3 separate regions of the Homo sapiens genome follow, and regions 1 and 3 are each linked to region 2. Evidence: promoter capture Hi-C in human tissues and cell types (Jung and others, 2019). All regions are on one chromosome and are shown on one strand. Each heading gives the region's core, a stretch centred on a gene start or on the middle of the fragment in contact. The rest is flanking DNA. Distances are from core to core; before and after follow the strand shown.

The links. Contacts are between HindIII fragments. The study calls those that stand out against the background at their distance.
Region 1: a fragment that was not itself captured here is called in contact with the fragment with the promoter of PAQR5 in region 2 in 2 of the 25 tissues and cell types used here (liver and spleen).
Region 3: a contact is called between a fragment that was not itself captured here and the fragment with the promoter of PAQR5 in region 2, in 1 of the 25 tissues and cell types used here (IMR-90 fibroblasts).

What each region holds. Positions count from the first base shown.
Region 1 is chr15:68,992,038-68,996,528 of GRCh38, forward strand. All of the region lies in intron 2 of SPESP1-NOX5 (SPESP1-NOX5 readthrough), which reads left to right. Among named protein-coding and RNA genes, the nearest start is that of NOX5, 20 kb to the right of the region's middle. The HindIII fragment of the contact is 6,685 bases long and covers 1-4,491 here.
Region 2 is chr15:69,295,679-69,300,161 of GRCh38, forward strand. It overlaps PAQR5 (progestin and adipoQ receptor family member 5), which reads left to right and starts at 3,234. Exons shown (of 9, transcript NM_017705.4): 1 at 3,234-3,378. It overlaps PAQR5-DT (PAQR5 divergent transcript), which reads right to left and starts at 3,085. Exons shown (of 3, transcript NR_184010.1): 1 at 2,800-3,085. The HindIII fragment of the contact is 6,076 bases long and covers 1-4,483 here.
Region 3 is chr15:69,029,216-69,033,797 of GRCh38, forward strand. It overlaps SPESP1-NOX5 (SPESP1-NOX5 readthrough), which reads left to right. Exons shown (of 17, transcript NR_033672.2): 5 at 2,387-2,597; 6 at 3,828-4,062. It overlaps NOX5 (NADPH oxidase 5), which reads left to right. Exons shown (of 16, transcript NM_024505.4): 4 at 2,303-2,597; 5 at 3,828-4,062. Among named protein-coding and RNA genes, the nearest start is that of NOX5, 17 kb to the left of the region's middle. The HindIII fragment of the contact is 3,122 bases long and covers 608-3,729 here.

The DNA.
Region 1 (4,491 bases), core at 1,988-4,487, 300 kb before region 2:
AAACAGAATACTTGAAGTTACTAGTTAGAGAAAACAGGAATCTATAAACTCATAAAGCTTGAAGAGCAAGGTACAATCACACAGAGGGGAGTGGGATTTGAGGGGGAACTTCACTTTTTCTTATCCTTATGTTGAGGGAGTGCTGGGAGAGTCTCCAGAGCACATCCCTTTGAGCCCTGGCTTCTTTGAAAATGTTATCAAGACTGCCTGGGTCTGGGCTTTGCCTGCTACTGCCTCTGGGATGTCAGCCTAATATAGAAAGCTTATTTTTCTCTTTTTAATTTTATTTTTCTTGAATTTCCTGCCTCATTTCCCCCCTTTGATGTTTCCTATAAATGGAATTTAATAGAAAGCATCACTATTATTTAGTCCTTCATGACAAGGCAGATCTTCTCTCTTTGGCAAAGGTTTATACTTTGTTAGAGCCATTAGTTGAGTGGTGGTTGTTTTGTCCACTAAGACTTCTATGGTACAATAAAGTCTTAACTACTGTGTTTCCTATCCATGTAGTATGCATGCAGTGAGGGCATCCTTCTATGGGCCCTTCTCCTTCTAGCATGGATATGGGGACCATCAAAAGTAAAGCAAAGAGTAGCATTCTTACACCCAGCATGGGCAGAAGAGATGTTTTCCCAGGGGAGGGGGTTGGCTAAAGCAACAGAACAACAGAAGTACAATTAATAATATAGGAAAGATTATTGGGCCTAAGATTTCCAGCCACATTTACTCATTTGATGATGACTCCTCAAGCTTCAGCCGTGTGTAGACTAGTCAGCTTCTGGGGTGACTAGAGCAGGGTTTGCTGTTTCCTCAAGTTTCCGCCGTGTGTAGACTGGTCAGCTTTCGGAGTGACCAGAGCAGGGCTGTTGTTGTTCTCAGTGGCAACTTGGTCTTGTCACAGGATCAGCCTGGTCAGATGGTCTGGGTCCTGCTGGCAGGTCCACTGGTCCTGGGATGCCAGTTTCAGCCAACTGTGGTGGATCTAAGGCACGATTCCTGCAACTTTAACAGCAGTGGGAGTGGACAAGATTACAGTATGGGGCCCATCGCATATGGGTCCCAGAGTGGTTGGATTCCATTTCTTAACCAAAACAAAGTCCCCAGGTTTGAAAGGGTGTACTGGGTCTGTCAGACTTATAGGCATTCTTTCCCACACCCAGCCATGCACTTTCTGCATGGCCATCCCTAAAGCCTGCATTTGCCTCCTTAAAGTTAATTCTCCTAGCTCACAGAGATCACCTTTAACCTGACTTATAATTGGGGGTGGCTGGCGGAACAAGACCTTATAGGGTGAATACCCAGTTTGTTTTGTGGGGGTACACCTGACTCCGAGGAGGACCACTGGCAAGACCTGATCCCATCGCGGAAGAGTCTCCAGACAAAATTTCTTCAGCAGCTGCTTGAGTGTCTGGTTCATGCGCTCCACTTTTCCTGAGCTCTGCAGCCGGTAGGCTGTGTGTAGCTTCTGTTTTATTTTTAATAGTTGAGTTAAGTCTTGAACTATTTCAGCTACAAATGCTGGTCCACTGTCTGACCCCAGAGTCAGGAGTAGTCCAAATCTAAGAATAATGTCTTTTAACAACACCTTAGTCACTTCTTGTGCTTTCTGTGTTCTGGTGGGGAAAACCTCAACCCATCCTGAAAAGGTGCAAATGAACACCTACATGTACTGATAGCCCCCTGCCCAGGGCCTGAGTTAAGGCTTCTTTGATTTCTTTAAAGGCCTTCTCCTGGTTGGCCTCCAAGAGGAGGGGTTCCTTCTCTCCCCACTTTGTGGCTTCATATAATGGCTTAGCCATGAGCGAGAAATTTGGGAGGCAGATATGGCAGAACCCTGCTGCCCCTAGGAATTCTCTTATTTGTCACCAGGTGATTGGAGTGGAAAGTGTCCAAACAGCCTGCTTTTGTTCACTACCAAGCCATCTTTCCCCTTCGCTTATATAGAAGCCTAAATACTGGACACTTTCAAAGCAAATTTGAGCCTTTTCCCTGACATTTTATATCCTTCCTTCCACAGCAGGTGCAGGAGGTCTTGGGTTCCTTGGAAGCAGTCCTCTCGTGTTGGGGCTGCTAGAAGAAGGTCATCTATGTAGTGAAGCAAGACACAGTCACTATTTGGTGCAGTGTAGGCTTTAAGGTCTGAGGCCAGTGCCTCTTCAAAGATTGTAGGAGAGTTTTTAAATTCCTGTGGGAGTCTTGTCCAAATGTACTGTGATTCACCTCATTGAAAAGCAAAAATAGGCTGACTAATCGGTGCCAGCCAGAGACAGAAAAATGCATCTTTTAAGTCTAGGACTGTAAACCAGGCAGCACTTGCCAGAATATGTCCCATTAAAGAATACAGGTTTGGCACCACTGGGTGCATGGTCACTTTGGCCTGGTTTACAGCATGCAAGTCCTGCACTGGCCTATATTCTCCAGACGCCTTCTGCACTGGCAAGAGAGGGGTGTTCCAGGATCACTCACATTTGACTATGATTCCATGCTTATGAAGCCACTCTAAGTGCTTGTGGACACCCCGTATGGCATCGGGGAGTAGTGGGTATTGGTGAACCTGAACTGGAGTTGCTCCCGGTTTTAACTCTACCACAACTGGTGCCTGATTTACAGCCAGTCCAAGTGGATTACTTTCAGCCCAAACTCCAGGAATTTTAGTAAGCACCCCATGCATTTCATTTACCCCTGGTTCCAGAGTCTTTTTGCATATAGCCTCCATTCCTCAGCCTGTGGGACAGTAAGGGTTAATACCATAGTCTCCAGGTGAGCTAGGTTTAAAGTTACATTCCCTTGTGGCCCATATGTAATCTGTGCTTGCAGTTTTTGGAGGAGGTCTCTTTCTAGCAAGAGAACTGGGCAGTTTGGGAGGTATAGGAAGTCATGCTAAACTTCTTCTCCTACTATCATGCACATCCTTGACTGACAGAAAGGCCCTTTCTCTGAGACTCTGGTGGCTCCTACAGTAGTTGCACAGTTCTTGGATAGTGGCCCTATAGGTCAGGTTACTACTGAGTGTTCAGCCTCGGTGTCTACCATAAAGTCCATCAGCTGGCCTCCAACTTCTAATGTGACCATGGGCTCCTGGAGGCCCAATGAGAAGGAGCCCAGTCTGTCCTAGTCCTCATATCCTTCAGCCCCTGCCAACCCAATCAGGTCAGTGTCGGGTTTCTCCTGGGTGCGGTAGCCCTCGGCTGGTGGCTTTCCCATACCACGGCCCTGGCCATTCTCTTTATTATTATTCTCTGGACATTCATCCTTCCAGTGCCCTTTCCTTTTGTACCATGGACATTAATCTCTCTCTAGCCTCGGCCAGCTCTCAGATCTTTTTCCATGCCTGTATAAATATAGGAATGAAATTATACCATGACACTTGGGGTGCAGTTGATGTAGTGTTTCTAGGATGTCTAAGTTCCACTGAATGGGGACGAGAAATGGGATCCTTTCCACCATTAAAAAAGAATGTGTTGGTGCTGAGTAAGCTGATACAGAATGATCCTCAGAGTAGGCGGTGAAAGGCTAAGGGCAACACAGTGTACTCCTGTGTGTGTGTGTGTGTGTGTGTGTGTGTGTTTAGGCAGCTTTATAATTGTACATATCATGTATCTGTACATAAAAAAAAAACAAACCCTGCTAATGGTGTTACCTCTGCAAAGCGAGACCAGGGCCTGAAGAGGGAGGGAGACCCTCTTTTCCTTGTTTACTCTCTCACTGTTTCAGTTTTCACTATGTGCGTGACTTATTTTTATTAAAAGAAGATTAAATCCTGTTTGGACCCTCTTTAAGCAAGACTGACCAGAAGTCTTGTATCATCATATCCTTGAATTCTCCTGGGTTTGTCAAAGGCCCCCCCTAGGGACTTAGCCATCTGGAAAGGGGGTCTTGCAGCTTCTGGTCGCCATGACAGCTGTTGCTCCTAGTGATCGCAAGATGCAGGCCTAGGCTTCCCAGCTCTGTATGCAGCATCCCACCACCAACCTGGGTCCCAAATGTTGAGATAATGTCTCTCGCAGTGCCAGTGTGTTGGTGTCACACTACGGTGTTACTTTAGGAAGAAAATACGTTCAGCACTCTGTGCTATACACTTAGGAAAAACAAATGTTCTTTACCTAAAAACATCTTCACCCTCTACCTTGCAGTACTGCCTTTATTCTCATTTCCCTCTGGGATAATCTGGCTTAACTGCCTCCAGTGGTCTCTAAACACAGTCTTGTTTAGAGGTTGTCTTCAGGGCTGGCCATTCTCACACCAGGGCCCCTCCATGCCTACTCAGCTTCCTCTCTCAGACCCAGAAACAGAAAGAATTGTCTATTGCTCCTTAGGGGGTTGGAGAATCCTTGTTGCCTCTAGGAAGAAAATCATGCCACCCTCCAATAGGTGAAGCTCTGGATAGCTTTTTTTCTTTCCTTGTGAGCCGACAGCAGCAATAAATGACATAAATTAATTTCTCAGTGAGTTATTACTATACATTACATTTTCAATGAGTTCCTCTTCTTC
Region 2 (4,483 bases), core at 1,984-4,483:
TGATGAGATAATGGCCTCATCAGCAGGGCAACTCTGACGGTGTGGGTGAGGCTGTTCTAGGTTTCGCGCTGCCAGGCAGCGCCTCTCTCCTAGCCTCCGTTTTCTCATCTGCCAAGTGGGGCAGTAAGCCCTGCCCTGGTGACTCCATTGCCAAGGAGAGGGGAGGCGTGAGCGGACTTATGGATTGGGGTAGAGTTGGGTGCCAGGGGGCTGAGAACACATGTGAGGGACCTGAATCTTGCCATATTAACTAAGGGCGATGGTTTCTGTAGTACCGTTTCTGCTATCCAACAAGGCCTTGTAAACAAATATAACGTCTGGGCCCACCCAGGAGGAGCTGGTGAGTGCCTGAGGAGTAGATGGCCAGTGGGGATGGGTGAAGAACACATAGAATAGTGACATCTGATATGGCGCCCCTTGAACACACAGGCAAAGGAAGAGATGGGGCATTTTGAGTCACATGGATTGGGGTAGGACTGTTTCCCCCCAAAAAGGCTTTTTGAGTTATGTTGTAAAGATGTCAGAGGGAGACTCACATTTAAGACTGAAGCTCTCCTTCCTTCACACCCTTGCCAGGACTCCCTCTGACCACCCCAATCCCTGCCCCCCTCCGTTTGTGGTCCCTCTGCCCATTGCCATGAGGAGAGTGTCCAATCCAATATCAGTCAGTTCCACAAATGTTTACTGAGCCCTTTGGAAAATAAAACACAACTCCAAATATTAAATTTACTTAGCACTCTGCAGTTTACAGAGCACTTCCAAATGCATTCTGTGGTCACTACAATAACCCTGAAAGGAAAAAAAGATGATTATCTCTCACTCCACAAAAAAGAAACTGAGGGTCAGAGAAGAGAGACAACTTGCTCAAGGCCATTTGATTGGAGGTTGCCTGACTCCTGGAGCTGCTCTTCCCCGTCTCCTTGCTGCCTTGCTGTCATGTCACCTGCTGTCTCACTGGGTCATTTGGGCGTGTGCCCCTCGCACGCCTGTATCTTCCCAACTGGTGTCAGCTCGAAACCCTCTGTGGTCTGCAGTGCTCAGCCTGGCTTTCCAGGTCTGGGCAGCTCCCTCCTTCCAGATCCTGCCTGTGATTCCAGCTCCTTTCCCTTGCTGTACAAAGTTCCCACCTCTGCACTTTGCCTCACTCTTTCTTCCTGCCCACTGGTACGTATCCCAGTCCTTCCCACACTTCAGGTCTCCCTCGGCTGCACAGGAGGCTCAAATCCAGCATAGATTCCTGAAGTCCTGGGTCCAAGTTCTAGCTCTGCTACTGACTTCTTGTGACTGTGTGACCTTGGGCAGGTCACTTTCCCTCTCTGGGCCTCCATTTCATCACTATGAAATAGGAGTGTTGAACACAATACTCTAAATGCATCTCCATGTGGTCTAAGTACCCCCCTCCCCGGCCCCTCCCTGCCCTTCCCCCTCCTCTGATCATCCTGTGTGCTCACCATCCACAATCCCCTCTCCTGGCTCCACATCATTCTCCAAAGGGTTCATGTTCAATCATTCAGTTAGACTTTAAACTCCCTAAGAGCAGAGGAGGGTGATTTTGGCCAAGATATGCAGATCGATTCATCAGTAATCCACTGACCACCTCCATTTAGGTTGGGAGCCTCTTTATCTTCCCTCTTTAGTTTCTTCAAGGTGCACACACAGATACCTACAGCAGGCAGGAATCCAGGTGGGGCACCAGGCATCTCTGCTCACCTTGGCTGCTGGTGGTGGGGTGCCTGCCTGTGCTGTGCATGCTGCAGCTTTGGCAGGGTGGCCAATCAGTCCAGTGCCAGCCTTTGCCTCCCAGAGAATGCTTCACACCCTATTCTTCCCCCAAACCCATCACTGGCCCAGACATCAAAAGCACACATCCCTGTGCTATTCCCCTTCAAAGAGCTTCATATCTAATATCTCACTGAGTCCCCCGACTAGCCTTGGAAAGGCAAAGCAGGGATTATTAATCTCCATTTTGTAGATGGTGAGGGTCTTGTCCAAGGCTACTCTGAATTCAGCATAGAGCTGGGACTGGGCTCCACTCTTGTGTCCAGTCATTCTTGTCAAACTCTGGTCTGTGGAATATACATGCCTGCCTCTGTGTAGGCCCCAGTCTCTTTCCCTTTAAGAACTTGGGTCTGAGAGGACAAGCGCATGTCGCACGCACACACACACGCACATGCATACACACCCTTACAAGATGCACAGCCACCAAAAAGCCTAATAAAGCAAGGTGCCCAAGACCACGGTTCAGGATCCGTAAAAATGGCCGGAGATAATTGACTGCAACCTATTCACTGCAAATGGGGCAACTTGGGCCCACAAAGGGCCAGAGACTTGACCCGAGTCACAGAGTAGACTAGAGCCCAGGTCTCTGGACTCCCAGTCCTGTGCTCTCTCCACTGTGTGTGCCCTCAGCAAACAAGGCAAGGCAGGGAGGAGCAGGAGCTCAGAGAGCCTGGGGCTGAAGGGTGGGAGGAAAGAGCCTGGTGGGGGACTTCGGTCCACAGGTGTGGATGTTCCAACCTTTCTCTGGCAGGGTCGGGGTGGGGGCACCAGGTAGCTGCAACCTGTTCCTTCAGCACCTGGGAGGAGACACAGAGTCTGGTTCCCTGAAGCCAAATGTTTCTTCTTTGTCCTCTGTGTCCCTTCATCTCTTATAGCTGTGTCCACTGAGTGGCAGAGGTCCAGGCCCAGCGCCTTCCAGTCTAGGAGCCTGTGACCTGGGACAGGATCCCTGGGGAAAGGGTGAGGGCTGGCAAAGGGCCCGCCACCCTGAGCACTCCAAGAGACAGGGGTGGAACTCACTTCAAGGATTCAGGGCGGCGAGGATCCTCTCCCACCGGCGAAGCGGACACCGCGGTGGGGCTGCGAGTACCCAGTTGTTGTTTTTTTCTCCTTCCCTGTTCTCCACCCCATGCACTTTTCCGAGGGGCAAGCTCCGCAGTTCTCCCATCAAGGAGGCTCTCCAGGCTCCCTGCCGGCCTTCGGCTCCTGGGGTGGAGGTGGGCGTGGGGTACATGGGCCCTAGGAGAATGGGGTGTGAGAGACTCCCCTGGGCTTATGGCTTTGGTGGCACCTCAGGCTGTGGAATGGGGTGGCGAGTCTTTGGAAGTCACAGAGCCCAGGGTCGGTGGCACGTGATGAGGCGCAGGCCTGGCTCAGGGGGTGGTGCCCACGGCCCTCGGCTCCTCCCCCGGGGCCGCCCCGCCCCGCGCGGGAGGGGACGGGCGGGGACCGGCATGGGTAGGCGCGGCGACCCGCAGGGCCAGGTGCAGGGCCCGCGAGTCCGGGGTCGCCGCAGCCCGGGAGGAGTGTCTGGTCTCCGGCCTGCCTGTGCTGTCCCCGCGCCCTGTCCACTGGACTCCCGAGACCCTTGGAACCCAGGTAACCCGGGGCGGGACTCCCCGCCGCGCGCCGCCTCCCCACCTCCCGGTCCACGCGCACCCGCCCTCCGCGGCAGCCCCAGCCGCCCTGCGCCCGTGGAGCCCGTTGAGCCTGGGTGGCCGCTCCGAGGGCGGGTCTGGGAAAGTTTGTGCCGGGGCGGCCCTGATCCGGCGGCGGCGCGGCTCGGCCACTTTCACCGCACGCGGGGCCGGTGTGAAGGTGGGGCGGCCGCCGCCGTGCAGAAGGCTCTCTGCTGCAATCGAGGGCGGTGAGGGGAGCTGTTGCCTTCTCGCACCTTTTCTCTCACTCTCCAGGGCGTTTGCGCCGCTTATCCTTCCTCCACCGCCCCCCTCCCGCCGCCCCCACTTTAATAAAACCCTTGGATTGGGGCTGCACAGTTGGCGATTTCTTTACACCTGTGCTTCCCGCCTCCTGAGCCCAGATGTGAGCCTGGGCTGAGCAGGACCGTGTGGGTGAGGGGCGGCCCACTGCCTGCGGGGGTCGTCCCGGCCCTGTTGAAGTGGGTGCCCAGCTACAGGGAGTTCCCCCTGCTCTGTCATTGGCCTCCCCCCGGCCACAGCCCCCAGCTGGGCATCTCCTGGCTCCCCTAGCACTTCCCAAGTCCTAGTCGGATGAGCCCAGGAGAGGGGGTGGACCCCGGCCCAGCAGAACAAGAACTCAGGAGCCCGGTAACTCTTATCCGTGAGCAGAACCGGCTTCCTCCCGCTTAGGTTGGGAGGAGGGCTCAGCTTAGTGGGAGTCGGGGGTGACAACTGCCCCTTCCCACGCAGAGCCATAGAGAAGAGATGGGGAGAGGTCAGGGGATCTGAGAAGAGCTAGCAGCCAAAAAGGGACACATCCCTGATTTCATTTGAACCTAACAAACCAATGGCGAGTAGATATTAACACATGGGCAGATGAGAAGACAAGGAGGCCCAACAAAGCTCAGCCATTTGCTGGAGAAACTGGTGGGCTTTTCTCCACCACTGAGTGGCGGGTTTCCCACCGCATCCTTCCAGAGCTGCATGGTCGCTTCTGCATTCTTGCAGTGCCCTTGACTCAGCAGAGGTTTGTTTCTTTTACCCCACTCCCCACCCCCCTAGGT
Region 3 (4,582 bases), core at 919-3,418, 270 kb before region 2:
CTCTAGGCACCTCATCTAAGTGGGATTATACAATATTTGTCATTTTGTATCTGGCTTATGTCACTTAGTATAGTATCCTCAAGCTTCATCTGTGTCATAGCATGTGACAGAATTTTATTCCTTTTAAGGCTGAATAATATTCCATTGTAGGTATATGCCATATTTTGTTTATCCATTCACCAATTAGTGGACATTTGGGCTGTTTCTACGTTTTAACTATCGTGATTAATGCTGCTATGAACATTGGTGCACAGATATCTGTTTGAGTTCCTGCTTTCAATTCTTCCGGGTATATATCCAGAAGGGGAATTGCTGGATGACATGGTAATTCTGGTAATTCTATTTTTAATTTTTTGAGGAACTGCCATACTGTTTTCCACAGTGGCTGCATTATTTTACATTCCTACCAGTAATGTACAGGTGGTCCAAGTTCTCCACATTCTTGCTAACACTTGTAATTTTCTGCTTTTTTTTTTTTTTCTGAGATGGAGTCTCACTCTGTTGCCCAGACTGGAGAGCAGTGGCATGATCTCAGCTCATTGCAGCCTCCACCTCCCAGGTTCAAGTGATTCTCCAGCCTCAGTCTCCCGAGTAGCTGGGACTACAGGCACCTACCACCATGCCCACTAATTTTTGTATTTTTCATAGAGATAGGGTTTCACCATGTTGGCCAGGCTCGTCTCGAACTCCTGGCCTCAAGTGATCCACCCGCCTTGGCCTCCCAAAGTGCTGGGATTACAGGCGTGAGCCACTGTGCTCAGCCTTATATTCTGCTTTTTGATAATAGCCATCCTAATGGGTGTGAAGTGGTAACTCACTGTACTTATAGTGTCATTTTTAGTGGCTGCATTATACTCCACTGTATGTATCATGCAGCATCGTGTAGTATTTAAGACTCTAAGCACAAGCTACCTAAGTTCAAATCTCAGTTCCATCACTTATTATATGATCTTAGACTAGTTACTTAACTTCTCTGTACCTCAATTTATTTATCAAATAGGAATTATGATAATAATATTTCATACTCATGGGGTTGAGATGAAGGTTAAATTAGTTAACTTACGCGCGACGGGGAGCCATCAAAGTGTGTTGAGCAAGGGATTCGCAGGGATGGACCTGCATTCTGAAAAGCTTTTCTTCAGCAATGTTCATTTTGCTGCCCTGGTGCCAGAGGGCGGAAAACAGGTAGCTGGCTTCACCCAGGGATGGGATATTCTTAGAGTCAGTAGAATGGAAGGTTAGAGGGAGAAGGAAGGAGAATGTGCACATGAGAATTATTGTGAGGGAGGACCCTGGATTTGAAATTGGCCAACAGAGAGATTAAAGCAGATAGAAGAGGCCATGAAGGGGCCAGGGGGAGACTGGTCCTCTGGATGAGTCCAGAAACCTGCTGTCATCTTGGCTGTTGACTAGGAAAGCAGAACAGGCGGTGTGACTGGAGAGTGGTATAATATACTCTAATTGATTCTGCATCGTAATGTGATTTGGGCCGGAATGATGATCACAACACCAATGAGAATTTCCATGTATATGCAATTTCCTTCTCCCAGATACTGCGTTAGGTGTTTTACCATTATCGAGTTTCCTTGAGCTAGTTCTGAGAGGGAGAAATGATTACTCTCATTTTAGAGATGAGCAAAGTGAGGTCCACTACCCCAGAGGACTTAGAGCCCACTATTGCACAGTTAAGGAGGGGCAGGAGCAGGATGCCACACTGGGTGTGTCCATATCCAAAGCAGGCCAAGAAATCATTAATCACGGGCTCTGCTGCTCAGGAAGAATAAAATACAGAAAAATCTCATCTCTGTTGGTAGTTTTGGCTTCCTTATCCCATCACTTTCAACCACCCATGTTTACATAAGGCCACACTGCTGGGCTGGAATGCCTAGCTGTGGCCCCTCTCAAGACAACATGATAAACAGAGCATTTGCTCCAAGTTGAACAACAAGGCACACTCCCTCAGCGCTAACCCACATACAGTGTGCCTTTGGATAACTGAGGCTGTGGGCACACCGCCCCTTATAGATTAAGTAAGCAGGTGTATTTTCTGGGCAGATAGTCTTGGAAGTTGAGTAGTACTTAGGGAGTTACCGATTCTGGAGACAGGCAACCACTGAAGCCAAAGATTCTCCACCCGTGGGGAGGTGTCCATTGCTGTTGAGCTAGGCAGTCGGGAACATGGAAGGTTTCTGAGCTGAGGGTGACATTTGGTCCTTCAGTTGCATGGTCTATACCCCCAAGGAAAGCTGACTGGCAGAAAGCTGGAGGTGGGTAAACAGAAGAGGCCCACCACTTCTTGCAGTGTGTGCACGGCAGGGGGCGTCTGCAGGTACAGAGTGGGGTGCTGGGGCAGGCCCGCACTGGGCTTCATCCCCACTCGGGACAGGCAGTGGCTCCATTGACCCGGATGAGCTGCGCACTGTGCTGCAGTCGTGTCTGCGCGAGAGCGCCATCTCGCTGCCTGACGAGAAGCTGGACCAGCTGACGCTGGCGCTCTTCGAATCGGCCGACGCGGACGGCAACGGGGCCATCACCTTCGAGGAGCTCCGGGACGAGCTGCAGCGCTTCCCCGGAGTCATGGAGAACCTGACCATCAGGTACGGCCGGGTCTCGGGCATTGGCACTGTCCACGGCGGCGTTAGACTCCTGGTCGGAAGTGTGGCAGGAACTCACCGCGGATCCACTCTGCCCTACCCCGCCCTGCCCCGCCCCTCCCCAGTTTAGCCCACTCTTGAGTGTACTGCAGGGCAGCTGTCTTCATTGCCTCCACTTCCTGCAGTGTCTCTGCAGAATCAACTCAAGGTCTGAGGCACCTACTGTGTGCTGAGCACTTTTGCATATACCAGTGCATTTTATAGCAATACTCGTTTTACAAAAGGAAATTACTTCGCCTGAAGTAAGTTGCCTAGGATCACACAAATAATTAACAAAGGTATTTATGCAATAAATGTTTGAGCAGCTTCTATGCAGCAGGCACTGTTCTGATTAATGCAGTGAATGAGGTCTCCACCCTGCTGGGGCTCCATTCCAGACGAAGAGACATGTCATTTACACCAATAAACACACAAACTAGAGAAGCACAAAATTAATAAGTGCTGTGGAGAAAATAAGAGTGTAACAGCAAGACCCAAGTCTGTCCGACTCCAGGCTCTGAATAGAGCCGGTTTTGTAGTTCATTCTTCCTGTGTATTAACTTTTTTTTTTTTTTTTTCTGAGACGGAGTCTCACTCTGTCGCCCAGGCTGGGGTGCAGTGGTATGATCTCGGCTCACCGCAACCTCCGCCTCCCGGGTTCAAGCGATTCTCCTGACTCATCCTCCCGAGTAGCTGGTATTATAGGTGCCAGCCACCACGCCCAGCTAGTTTTTGTATTTTTAGTAGAGACGGGGTTTCGCCATCTTGGCCAGGCTGGTCTCGAACTCCTGACCTCAGGTGATCCGCCCGCCTTGGGTTCACAAAGTGTTGGGATTACAGACGTGAGCCACTGCACTGGGCACCTACCTGCCTATTAACTTTCTTGGGGCTTACTTACCAAAACATATTTCAGATTCTTCCATCCTTTTCGACTGCTTCTTTTAAAATTGGAAAGTAAAGAGAAGTAATAAAAATAGCGGTGGTTGTGGCATTAGGCAGACCGGAGTCCCCTTTCAGCTCCGCGGAGCTGTGCGACTGTGACCAAGCCACTTGACCTCTCTGTTTCCTGGTGTGAAGAAAGCCGGCCTGCTTGCCAGACTTGGTCGGCCATAGCTTGAAGGGGGTCTTTAAGTTAAGACACAGGTGGTCCCCGCCCCACCGCTCGCCTCTGAGCGGAACCCGCCTCTCTCGCAGCGCTGCCCACTGGCTGACGGCCCCCGCCCCCCGCCCACGCCCGCGCCGGCCGCGCCAGCTGACCCGCGCCTACTGGCACAACCACCGCAGCCAGCTGTTCTGCCTGGCCACCTATGCAGGCCTCCACGTGCTGCTCTTCGGGCTGGCGGCCAGCGCGCACCGGGACCTCGGCGCCAGCGTCATGGTGGCCAAGGGCTGCGGCCAGTGCCTCAACTTCGACTGCAGCTTCATCGCGGTAGGCTCTGCCAGCACACGGTGCTCTGAAAATGTTAATTAGGAGCCGAGGTGGGCTCCTCCTAGACAGAGCGACCCACAGAGGACACCTGGAATGCCAGGGCAGGGTGGCACCTTAGAAATCAGCTGGGCCAACGCTCAGAGTTGGAGGACGCCGCCCAGAGAGGGACAGTAGCTTGTCCACAGTCACACAGCCAGTAAATAATAACATAACTGGCATTTTTGTGCACTATGCACCAGGCACGGTGCTGAGCACGCTCCATTTGATCTTCACAACTCCCCTATAGTGGACCCCTGTGCAGGAGCACCTTCAAGAGGAAACCCTAGAAGAGGCTTTGAATACCAGACCATGGAGTTGGAATGTGGTTCTCTGGCTCATGGATGAGGCCTCTAAGAGGTGTTTTTTTTTTTCTTTCTTTTTTTTCTTTTTTTTTTTTTTTTGAGACGGAATTTTGCTCTTGTTGCCCAGCTGGAATGGCACGATCTCAGCTCACTGCAACTTTTGCCTCCCGGGTTCAAGC